Regions from separate parts of the Homo sapiens genome. Here region 1 is linked to region 2. Evidence: promoter capture Hi-C in 16 types of primary human blood cells and fetal thymus (Javierre and others, 2016). All regions are on one chromosome and are shown on one strand. Each heading gives the region's core, a stretch centred on a gene start or on the middle of the fragment in contact. The rest is flanking DNA. Distances are from core to core; before and after follow the strand shown.

The links. Contacts are between HindIII fragments. The CHiCAGO score rates a contact against its expected background, and 5 or more counts as called.
Region 1: a contact is called between a fragment that was not itself captured here and the fragment with the promoter of FBP1 in region 2, in 4 of 17 cell types (megakaryocytes, naive CD4 T cells, endothelial precursors and 1 more). The highest score is 6.6, in megakaryocytes.

The regions. Positions count from the first base shown.
Region 1 is chr9:95,107,504-95,111,462 of GRCh38, reverse strand. All of the region lies in intron 13 of FANCC (FA complementation group C), which reads left to right. LOC107987102 (a long non-coding RNA gene) reads right to left here. Exons shown (of 2, transcript XR_001746847.2): 2 at 2,717-3,959. It also overlaps a transcript of AOPEP not described here. Among named protein-coding and RNA genes, the nearest start is that of MIR3074, 23 kb to the right of the region's middle. The HindIII fragment of the contact is 1,842 bases long and covers 1,000-2,841 here.
Region 2 is chr9:94,637,813-94,643,768 of GRCh38, reverse strand. FBP1 (fructose-bisphosphatase 1) reads left to right here and starts at 4,251. Exons shown (of 7, transcript NM_000507.4): 1 at 4,251-4,628. The coding sequence starts at 4,459. RefSeq lists a silencer at 4,118-4,177. The HindIII fragment of the contact is 3,451 bases long and covers 3,248-5,956 here.

The sequences.
Region 1 (3,959 bases), core at 671-3,170, 470 kb before region 2:
GTGGGTAGCAGGCCCCACTGCATGTGTTTGGGGTGGGCTCTGGGGGGCTGAGAGGAGCTTGCAGAGAGGGGCTCTGTTGTGGGCTTGGCTTCCATGACACCTGAGCTCTGCCCACAGATGGCATATGTCATGGCAACCTGCAGGCATGGTGATCTCCAGCCTTGTGGTCAGAGGCGTTCTCCTGTCCCCACCGAGGTGGCCAGAGACGAGACGCTGCCAGCCCATTCTCCTGCAAAACGAAGACCCTTCTTCCCCAAGGTCATTTGATCTGTTATTGCTCAGCTGCCATATCTGCCCCAGGGTCGCGTCCTCCAAGGCGTGCCCTGCAGAGGCGGGCTGTTCTGAGGGGTGTGCCGGCAGCAGAGCCTGGCCACAGCCAGGGCCCTGTCTCGCTCCCCAGCAGCCCGGCCAGGGCTTGCTTCCATCTTGACTGTCTCCTTTCTTGGATCAGTCAACAGATCCTCACATTACTGGCTTTATTTACATCTCTTACTAAAGTAATCAGATGATATTAACCACTTTGCTTCTGAAAAAGAAGTTGGTCATTTCCTAAATAACAGAGCAGCTAAGTATGGGACTGGATAACTGTCTGTGGCAAAGACAGTTGTTATTTTATGTGGAATATAATAATTACAGGAAGCAATGCTTTGATTAAAGGCATTGGCACCTCCCTTGCAAGCATTGATTTGCTAGGTTCTTAAAACTTCAACTGCCAGTGCTCTATGCTGATCTTAGTAGTTAAAGAGGACAAGGCTCATTTTGTATAGAGCCCTGCTTCTCTTGGCTTTGGCATTTTCTGTTGTTTGAAAACACACAGACTAATAAAGATGTCTGCGTATTTTGTTTAAAGGCTTGCATGGCATAGGAAAGAAAAATAGTTTTAGATTTTAAAAAGTTGAAATTTGGTGATAATTTATTTTGGATCAGAAATAAAGCTTTGTGAAAAAATTATAACCCACGTATGTATTTGAGGATTGCTGTCTGATTAAAAAGAAAGCTTTTTATTTCTTCCCCTTTAAAAGATCACGTTAAGCTAAGGAAAATCCTGGTTGATGTTTTTAACAGTAATAAGATGTACGGGGCACATATGGTTTTTAAAGCCCTTTTATATTCTGTCTTATTTGATTCTGAATAAGCTAAGTTGGTAGATATGTGTTCAATTCCATCACAGTCAAAAGGTTACTGACAGAGAATCACTTTTGAAGTATAAAGAAATAAATTATTCAATAACACTTAATTTCTAGAAAGTTCTACATTGGCACATCTTCTACTAGCTAACTTGGTCCTTTTTTATGAAAAAATAAAACCCTTGCGTAGTTCTCCCTCAGGGGATGCCTAGGATTTTGGATGAGAACGTATTGGCTCAATGTGAGTGGGGCAGTGGCAGGCATCCATTTCCCTTCCCCCCATTCTGTCACAGGTGCCCATCTGCCTGGCAGTTCAATCCAGTGCTCATGTTGGTGACTCCAGAGCCCCTTCCTTGCTGGTGCCTGCCTGAGGCATTGGTGTATGTGGCGTCCTGGGAAGGGGATTTTAGTTTAATGAATGATACGTACCTCTTGTTTTCCTGGGTTTTGTGAGCTTTAATCCCTTGATGGTCTGTTGGGAGGCTTGAGAGACAAACTGTGAACTGTGTTAGAAAGCATGATTCGTATGTGATTGAATTGAAATTAGCAGTATCTCTGCATTTGTGCATTTACTTAAAAAGGCACAATTAAATCAGCTGGTGGCGTATCCCCGCATCGTGTGCTGGGCCTGGCGTCACTGCCTCTGTGGATGTCCTTGAGGTGAAGAACATGGGTGCAAAGACCAAGCGTGTCCCCGCCCAGGATGTGTCCTGCCTGTGAGAAGGCCTGTCCCACTCATGGGCAAGCCACCCTTTCCACCAGCAGCCAGAGTTCATCTCCTTTTGCCAACAACTGAATCAGATCACAACAAAATAAAAAAAAGTCGTTTAGATACCCTTAAGAATCAGTAAGGTACAATGATGCCTAGAGAAAAAAAGGAAAAAAAAAAATCAGGCAAGGGTTCATACCCTTTAACCCTGTGGTTCCACTTCTAGGAATTACCCTGGGGAATAGAGATCCATGCAAAGGCTTATGTATAAGAATATTCAGCACAGCATTGTTCATAAATACAACAATGGGAAATGGCCTGAACTTTCAATAGTAAGGCTACTGGCCAAATAAAGTGTGGTATATCCTAACCATGGAATAGCATTCTGTTACATACCATGAAAAATCATGCTCTTGGACGGGTGTGGTGGTTCATGCCTGTAATCTCAGCACTTTGGAAGGCCGAGGTGGCCGTATCACTTGAATCCATGAGTTTGAGACCAGCCTGGGCAACATAGACCCCTGTCTCTACAAAAAAATAAATAAAGAAATTAGCCAGGTATGGTAATGTGTGCCTGTAGTCCCAGCTACTCGGGAGGCTGAGATAGATGGAAGGATCGCTTGAGCTCAGGAGGCAGAGGTTGCAGTGAGTAGAGATTGCACCACTGCATTCCAGCCTGGGTGACAGAGCAAGGCTCTGTCTCCAAAAAAAAAAAAAGGTCTTGAAGAGCATGTTCTATAGATACAGTGAACTGAACTGCTTATAGTACATTATGGAGAGAAAAATGAAAGATACAAGGCATTATGTGTAGTGAGTGGTATGGTCTCAGTGCGTAGAAAAAAGACAAGAAGTATATAAACCGAATTATTAACAGTGAGTCTTTTTGGATGGTAGAGTTATAGATCATTTTAATGGTTCTTCTTTTTCTCTTTTCAAATTTTCCATAGTAAGCATATATGTCTTTATAATGCAGGATAAAAAATACTTTAAAAAGAAAAGAAAGCTTTTATCTTTCTCCTGAAAAACTTAGGACATGTTTAAAGTTAGTTATCGGTGTTCAAGTGGAAGCCCATGAGCATGGACGGCCTCTGAAGGGAAAGACAGTCTGGGCCAGACATAAAGGAAGATAGACCCCATCTTAGGGATTATTGGACAAGGGCAGAAAGTCGGTTGTGGGTCAAGAGAAAAAACAGATATAAAGGCATAGCCTCCTAAACCCTGACATTTTTGCAGACCCAGTTAGATGGCAGAATGGCCTTGGGCTCCCGTAGACACCATCAGACCCGGCAGGCTGGGCCGGCTGAGGGGCGAGGTGGGGAGAGTGAGGCCTGCCCTGCTGGAGCGCTGCCGCTCCCCGTGGAAGAGCCCGATGGTGCAGTTTCTCACGGTCTTGTATTGTGGTCAGAGGAGCTCACACAACACACCCAGTGTACTGGAGTTTATGACAGACTTCATTGAATGAGGCCTTGACTTCCAGGGAAAAAAAACGCCTCACACAAAATCCATAAAATCGGTCATGGGAATTCTCAGAATAGGCCTAAGTATTCTTTCAGAAGTGATGGAACATAGCTGTTCACGAGTTCCATGTGGCATTTGGAGCTATGGGCTTTCGGTTTTTGCTTTGCTTTGTTTTCCAAGTCACGACTGGGTGTACCATTCTTGTAGCAAGCAGAAACATCTCAGCATGGAATGAGTATTTTTTATGCAAAAGCAACCTGCAGACTTATAATTACCATTATTATGTGGGTTCCACAGACTTGTGGCCTCTGCTTGAGCATTAAACACGTATGAACAGATTGTTCCGGCATCTAAAACAAATGTGTTCTTGTGTGTGCATGCATGTGTGTATGACCGTGCTTGTGTACACGTGCGTGCATGTGTGTGTGTTCCCCCCGACCCCCCGCCCTGACCCCCAATATAGCAAGAAGCAAAGGCAAGCCTACATTCGTATGGGAACACTGGCTCGGCGGAGGTCTGACTGCGTGGGGCTTTAATTGATTTGTGGCTGTGATAGGCGAGTCTTCAAGGAGCCTTTTGTTCTTTTTCCCACAATATAAAAATCTGACTACATTCTGTTGAGAACTTTTCTCTGTTTCCTTTTATACAAAAAAAGGTCAGTTCCT
Region 2 (5,956 bases), core at 3,002-5,501:
CTCGACCTCTTGGGCTCAAGTGATCCTCCTCCTTCAGCCTCTCCAGTAGCTGAGACTACAGGCATGCGCCACCACTCCTGGGTAATTTTTAAATTTTTTTAGAGACAGTGTTTTCCTTATGTTGTCCAGGCCGCTTTTAAAATTCCTGGGCTCAAGTGGTCTGTCTGCCTCGGCAACCCAGAGCATTGGGATTACAGGTGTGTGCACTGTGCCTGGCCTGTTTTTCTTTCCTGTGGCACTAACCGCCCCCACAGAGGGGAAAGTAAGCAGTGGAGCCCTGGGTTGAGGGCGGCTGTTGTAGGGGCAGGGACTGTCCACACTGTTACTTCTCCACTGCCCGCCTCCAACATAACCCCATCGTGGGAGCTGGGTGAGGAAATGCATGAGCACTGATTCTTCGCAGGATTTCGAGTGTTACACATGTGGTAATACTGCTCACATCACTTGAATCTGCAATCCCATGTGAAGTTGGAGTATGTGGCAAGAAGCAACTCTGCGAGGGTGGTGGGTGGAGGAGGGAGGGGCCCAACCCACAGGCCAGGAACCCATGTGAGGTGGCCGCCTTCCTCTGTCTCTTGCTAATACCTGGGTGATGGGCTTTATGCATCTTGACCCAGAAAAGAGCGAGTCACAATCGACCAATATGATGGAGGGGATATCACTGCACACCAGGCAAATACAGGCTCAGCTGCCAATTCCCACATCCCTCTAGCCCCTTTTGATGGCCAGGGAACTTTCTTGCTTCTGTTCACATGAAAACAACAGTTGGCCCTACCCATGTAACGAAGCAAACACTTACATACTGTGTACTTACTACATGCTGGGCACTGTTCTTAAACACTACCAGCACTGCCTGTATAATTCTCCCAGCAACCCTATGAGGTGGCTACAATCATTAGCCCCAGTTTACAGATGAGCCAATGGTTGCTTGGTGAGGTTTAGCCAATTGCACAGGCTTGCACAGCCAGTAAGTGGCCAGGCCAGGGTTTGGACCCAAGCCATGCAGCCCCAGAGTCTGTGCACTTCACCACAATGCGACGTGGCCTAGTCCCAAGGGGAATGGCTTGCCTTGTAGGCAATGAGCTGCCCATCATCGTGGGTGACAAGCAGAAGTGACTGAGCTAGACAGGGGTCTCCTCCACGTATTCAGTGTGTCCCCTGTGTGTAGCTCTGAGCTAAGCACTCTGCCAATGCCATCTCATTTCAGCCCGATGACACCACTGCCAGATGGAACCATTATTCCACTATATGGATGAACAAACTGGGTTTACAGAGATTAGGTAACTGGTCCGAGATCTCTGGCTGCTGAGGGCTGGAGCTGGGACTCAAACAAGTTTGCTTAATGCAGATCCCAAGCTCTTCACCTCTTATCAGGGATGGTGTCCAATGAGGGTTGGCTGGACTAGATGACTTTTACGGTCCTAGCCAATCCAAGATCCTGAGGGACTGAGAGTCTGGCAAGTAAAGGGGCACACTCCCCTAGTTACTAGCTCTAGCTCTCCCCTAGTAACTAGTTACTATGCCAAAAATACTAGTCATCACATTTCAGTTCTTTTTTTTTTTTTTGAGATTGAATCTCGCTCTGTTGCCCAGGCTGGAGTGCAGCGGCAGGATCTTGACTCACTGCAACTTCTGTCTCCCGGGTTCAAGCGATTCTCCTGCCTCAGCCTCCTGAGTAGCTGGAATTACAGGTGCACACCACCATGCCCGGCTAATTTTTTATTTTAGTAGAGATGGGTTTCACCATGTTGGCCAGGCTGGTCTTGAACTCCTGACCTCAAGATCTGCCCGCCTCAGCCTCCAGTTTGTTTGTTTTTCTTTTTTTTTTTTTTTTTTGAGATGGAGTTTTGTTCTTGATGCCCAGGCTGGACTGCAATGGTGCCATCTCTGCTCACTGCAATCTCCGCCTCCCAGGTTCAAGCGATTCTCCTGCCTCAGCCTCCTGAGTAGCTGGAATTACAGGCATGCACCACCATGCCCAGCTAATTTTTGTACTTTTAGTAGAGACGGGGTTTCTCCATGTTGGTCAGGCTGGTCTCGAGCTCCCAACCTCAGGTGATCTGCCCGCCTCGGCCTCCCAAAGTGAAGTGCTGGGATTACAGGTGTGAGCCAGTGAGCCGGGCCTATTTGAGTTTTTATGTTTAAGGATGTATTTCTCTTACTATTTTTTTTAACACAGGGTTTTTCCTGAAAAGTTGCCTGAGGAACAAAGAGTTAAATAAGACCCTTAAAGGATCAACTCTCTTTGCCAGGCATCTAAGTCCCCTCTGGGGCTTTGAGGAGACAGTCGCTGTCTTTCCTGGTGGTACCACCACCTTCCTTCATTCAACGCCGCCGCATCTGACAACCCTGGGCACAGGAATCTGCACCCCAGGTCTCCACGGTGAATCCAGCAGTCAATTTTCAGAGCTTGTCCTGCCTGCCCCATCCACACCGCTTGGCACATGGGTCAGCCCGCCTTTACTTACCTTCTTCATCTGGCTTCCCGGATGTCACATCTCTTGGTTTTTGGTTGGTTTTTCCAGTTGGCTTTTCCAATTTATACCTGCAGCATGGATCTCTCCTCTGAACTCCAGATACATAAATCTGTCTATTTGACATTGCCTTGGATGTCTAGAAGGCATTTCAAACTTAGCAGGTCCCACACTTAGCTCCTAATTGTCAGTCCTGCCTCCAGCACACGCCCCTCTCGGTGTTCCCCATCGCAGTCGAGGACAACTGCATTCTTCTAGTTTCTCAGGCCTCAAACCTTAGAATCATCCGAGACTCCTGTCTCTCACATATCTCATCTGTCAACGAATCCCATCAGCTCTACCTTCAAAATATGTCCAGAATCCACCACCTCCACTGCTAACACCTGGCTCACTATCTCCTAGTAACCTGGAGGGCACTGTCTTCAGTCTGATCTTCACACAGTAGCCGCAGTATGAAGACACAGGGTAGACCATGCCTCTCTTCTTCTCCAAACTCTCCAGTGGGTTCCTCCTAGTCAAAGTCAAACCTCACTTGGCCCTCTAGACCTCACCTCTGCATCCTCCCGCTGGCCTTATCTCCTCCACCTCTGACCCTTGCTAGCTCTATTTCAGCTCCACCGGTCTCCTGGCCATTCCCTGAACCTGAAACATGGTCTCCTACCCCAGGGCCTGTGCACTGGCTCTCCCGGTGAGGAAACCGCTCTCCTTCCCATCTCCACCGGCGCGTTGCATCCTTCACCTCTTTGCTCACATATCCCTTTCTCAGAGAAGCTTTTACTGAGGCCTCTGCTCACCCTCTTCTCCCCTCCACATTCCGTGTCTTCCTTTTCTATTTCGTTTCTCTCTATGGTACTTATGGCTTATGTAACAAACTAATCTATTGTTTATATATTTATTTTTACTGTTTCTCTGTGAAAACGTACACTCGAAAAGGGCAGGAGTTTTGTCTGTTTGGATCAGGCTCCACCCCTGGAAGGTAGGACAGTGTTCAGCACAGCAGGTGCTCAATAGGTGTTGTTTCGTGAATCAGCACATCAATTGCAGCATTGTGGCTACCAGGGGGTCAGGATGCGGGCGGTGGAGCCCTCTGGCCTTTGTGTGGTAGCCGAGGACTCTGTGTCAGCGACCGTTTTCCGGGAAACTTCCGGGCGAGACTCACATCTTGGAAATTCAAATACTCAATAGCTCTCGAATTCTAGGAATCTTGAGAAGAGGCCTGGATTAAGGATTCAGACGTGGGCCCTCAGATGGGTGAGAAACGGGGACTCTGTGTCTCCTAGCGGGGACAGAAGGGCCAGGTGACAGGCCAGGCAGAGTGGACGGGGCTTGGGCAGGGGGCGGGGGCAGGCAGCCACACGGGGCAGGAGCTGCAGAGCTAAAGCCAGGCCATGTGGACTGGCTGCGGGTTTCGCTGCCTAGCTGGTGGCATTGAGCAAGTTACTTAACCTTTCTGAACTTCCGTTTTATGATTTTGGAGGAAACAGTCATAGCTTTCTCTCTGGCAGAGTCCGATGGCCCGAGTCCCGCTCCACAGTGCGGGTGGAGGGCACGGAGGGGTGTGTGTGGGGGGCGACAGCCCAGGAAGACTAGGGGGCGGCAGGGCGCGTGGGGGCGGGGGTTGGGAGACCGCAGGGAGGATCCCCGACCTTGTCTGAAGATCCAAGCAGGCGGAGCCGCGGTCTGGTCCGCGGGGTAGGCGGGGCGCAAGAGTGTTCCCGGGGGCGGGGGGCCGACCCGCGTCTAAAGGTTTCCGCGATTCACCCGCCGGCGCCTGGCCTGGCCCAGTTGCACCACGAGCGCTGCGGACACTCGGGGCGGCAGTCGGTCTGTCAGTCCTCCCGCCAGGTCCCGCGGCCCGCACCTGCCGCCCGCACCTGCAGCTCCGCACCTGCGGCCAGTGCCTACTGCCCTCTCTTGCCGCCCGCACCTGCAGCCCCGCACCTGCCGCTTGCACCTGCAGCCCCGCGCTCTACCCGGTTCAAGCATGGCTGACCAGGCGCCCTTCGACACGGACGTCAACACCCTGACCCGCTTCGTCATGGAGGAGGGCAGGAAGGCCCGCGGCACGGGCGAGTTGACCCAGCTGCTCAACTCGCTCTGCACAGCAGTCAAAGCCATCTCTTCGGCGGTGCGCAAGGCGGGCATCGCGCACCTGTGAGTCGGGCCTTGGGCGGTGGGCCCCGTCCTGTCTGTCTGCCTGGGGAGCCTGCCCGGCGGGCTGACGTTGGGCCCTCTGAGCCTCCTGCCGTCAGCCTCTGTCTGTCCGTCTGATGTCTGAGCGCCTCTCTCGCTCTCTGTCTGGTAGCCCCTCTCTCCAGAAGCTGGCTCAGCCTCACTCAAGTCCTCATCTCCTCCCTTGACCTTGGAGGGGCCCACCTGGGGGTCCGTCTCACAGGTGTACACCTGATTCCATCTTGCATTCCTCTTCTCTGCCCTGAGCAGCCTGCCTCGTACCCCTCTCAGCCGGCCAAGTGTGGGCACCTGGCCTGCCCGTCATACCCGCCCTAGCCTCAGACAGGAAAGTGCTAGCTCAGGTGCCTTCCTTCCCCATTTCTTCTTTGTCCTCCTTCACTCTTTCTGCAATTAGGGACCCAAGTCAGGTTTCTAATCCAGTTATCTCTGACCTGAAACAAGACCTGTTAGGAGCGAGTGTCCCCCCCGCCCCCCCCGCAAGCAGGCTGGGAGGTCTCCTGTGTGTCCAGAGCCTTTAGGAGCAGCAGGGCTTGTGTGCAAAGGAGCTCCCGTGGGCTGCCCCTTGCTGGGACAGTTGCCATGCTGTGCCAGAAACAGGAAACACCCAGGGCTTCAAAACCCCTATCGATTTGCAATGATGGTGTGTGCAGCCTCTGCCCAATTAGTGGAAAGCTCAAAAGTGGTTTGTAGAATGGTTCTGAATGCGCTATGGAGTGCATCTCGAACGTCACTGGGCACAGGAATCATTTGGGGATCTTGGTAAGATGTGTGCCCTCCTTCCATAGCTCTGGGACAGGTCCTGAGATTCTGCATTTCTAAGAAGTTCTCCTGTGGTGGGTGCTGCCCATCAGATACTGTTTGTCTACTCATCACATTGTGAGTAGCAAGGGGTCAAGTGGAGTGGAGACTCAAAGGACCCCTTCTTGTGAGGTTTTTTGTAAGTCACACAACATCCTTTCGTTTGTGTTGGTGTGCACAGGTATTTTCTTTTTCTTTTCTTTTTTTTTTTTTTTTTGAGATGGAATTTTGCTCTTGTTGCCCAGGCTGGAGTGCAATGGTGCGATCTTGGCTCACCGCAACCTCTGCCTCCCAGGTTCAAGCGATTCTCCTGCCTCAGTCTCCCGAGTAGCTGGGATTACAGGCATGTGCCACCATGCCCAGCTAATTTTGTAATTTTTTTTAGTAGAAACGGGGTTTCTCCATGTTGGTCAGGCTGGTCTCGAACTCCCGACCTCCGGTGATGCCTTGGCCTCCCAAAGTGCTGGGATTACAGGCATGAGCCGCCGTGC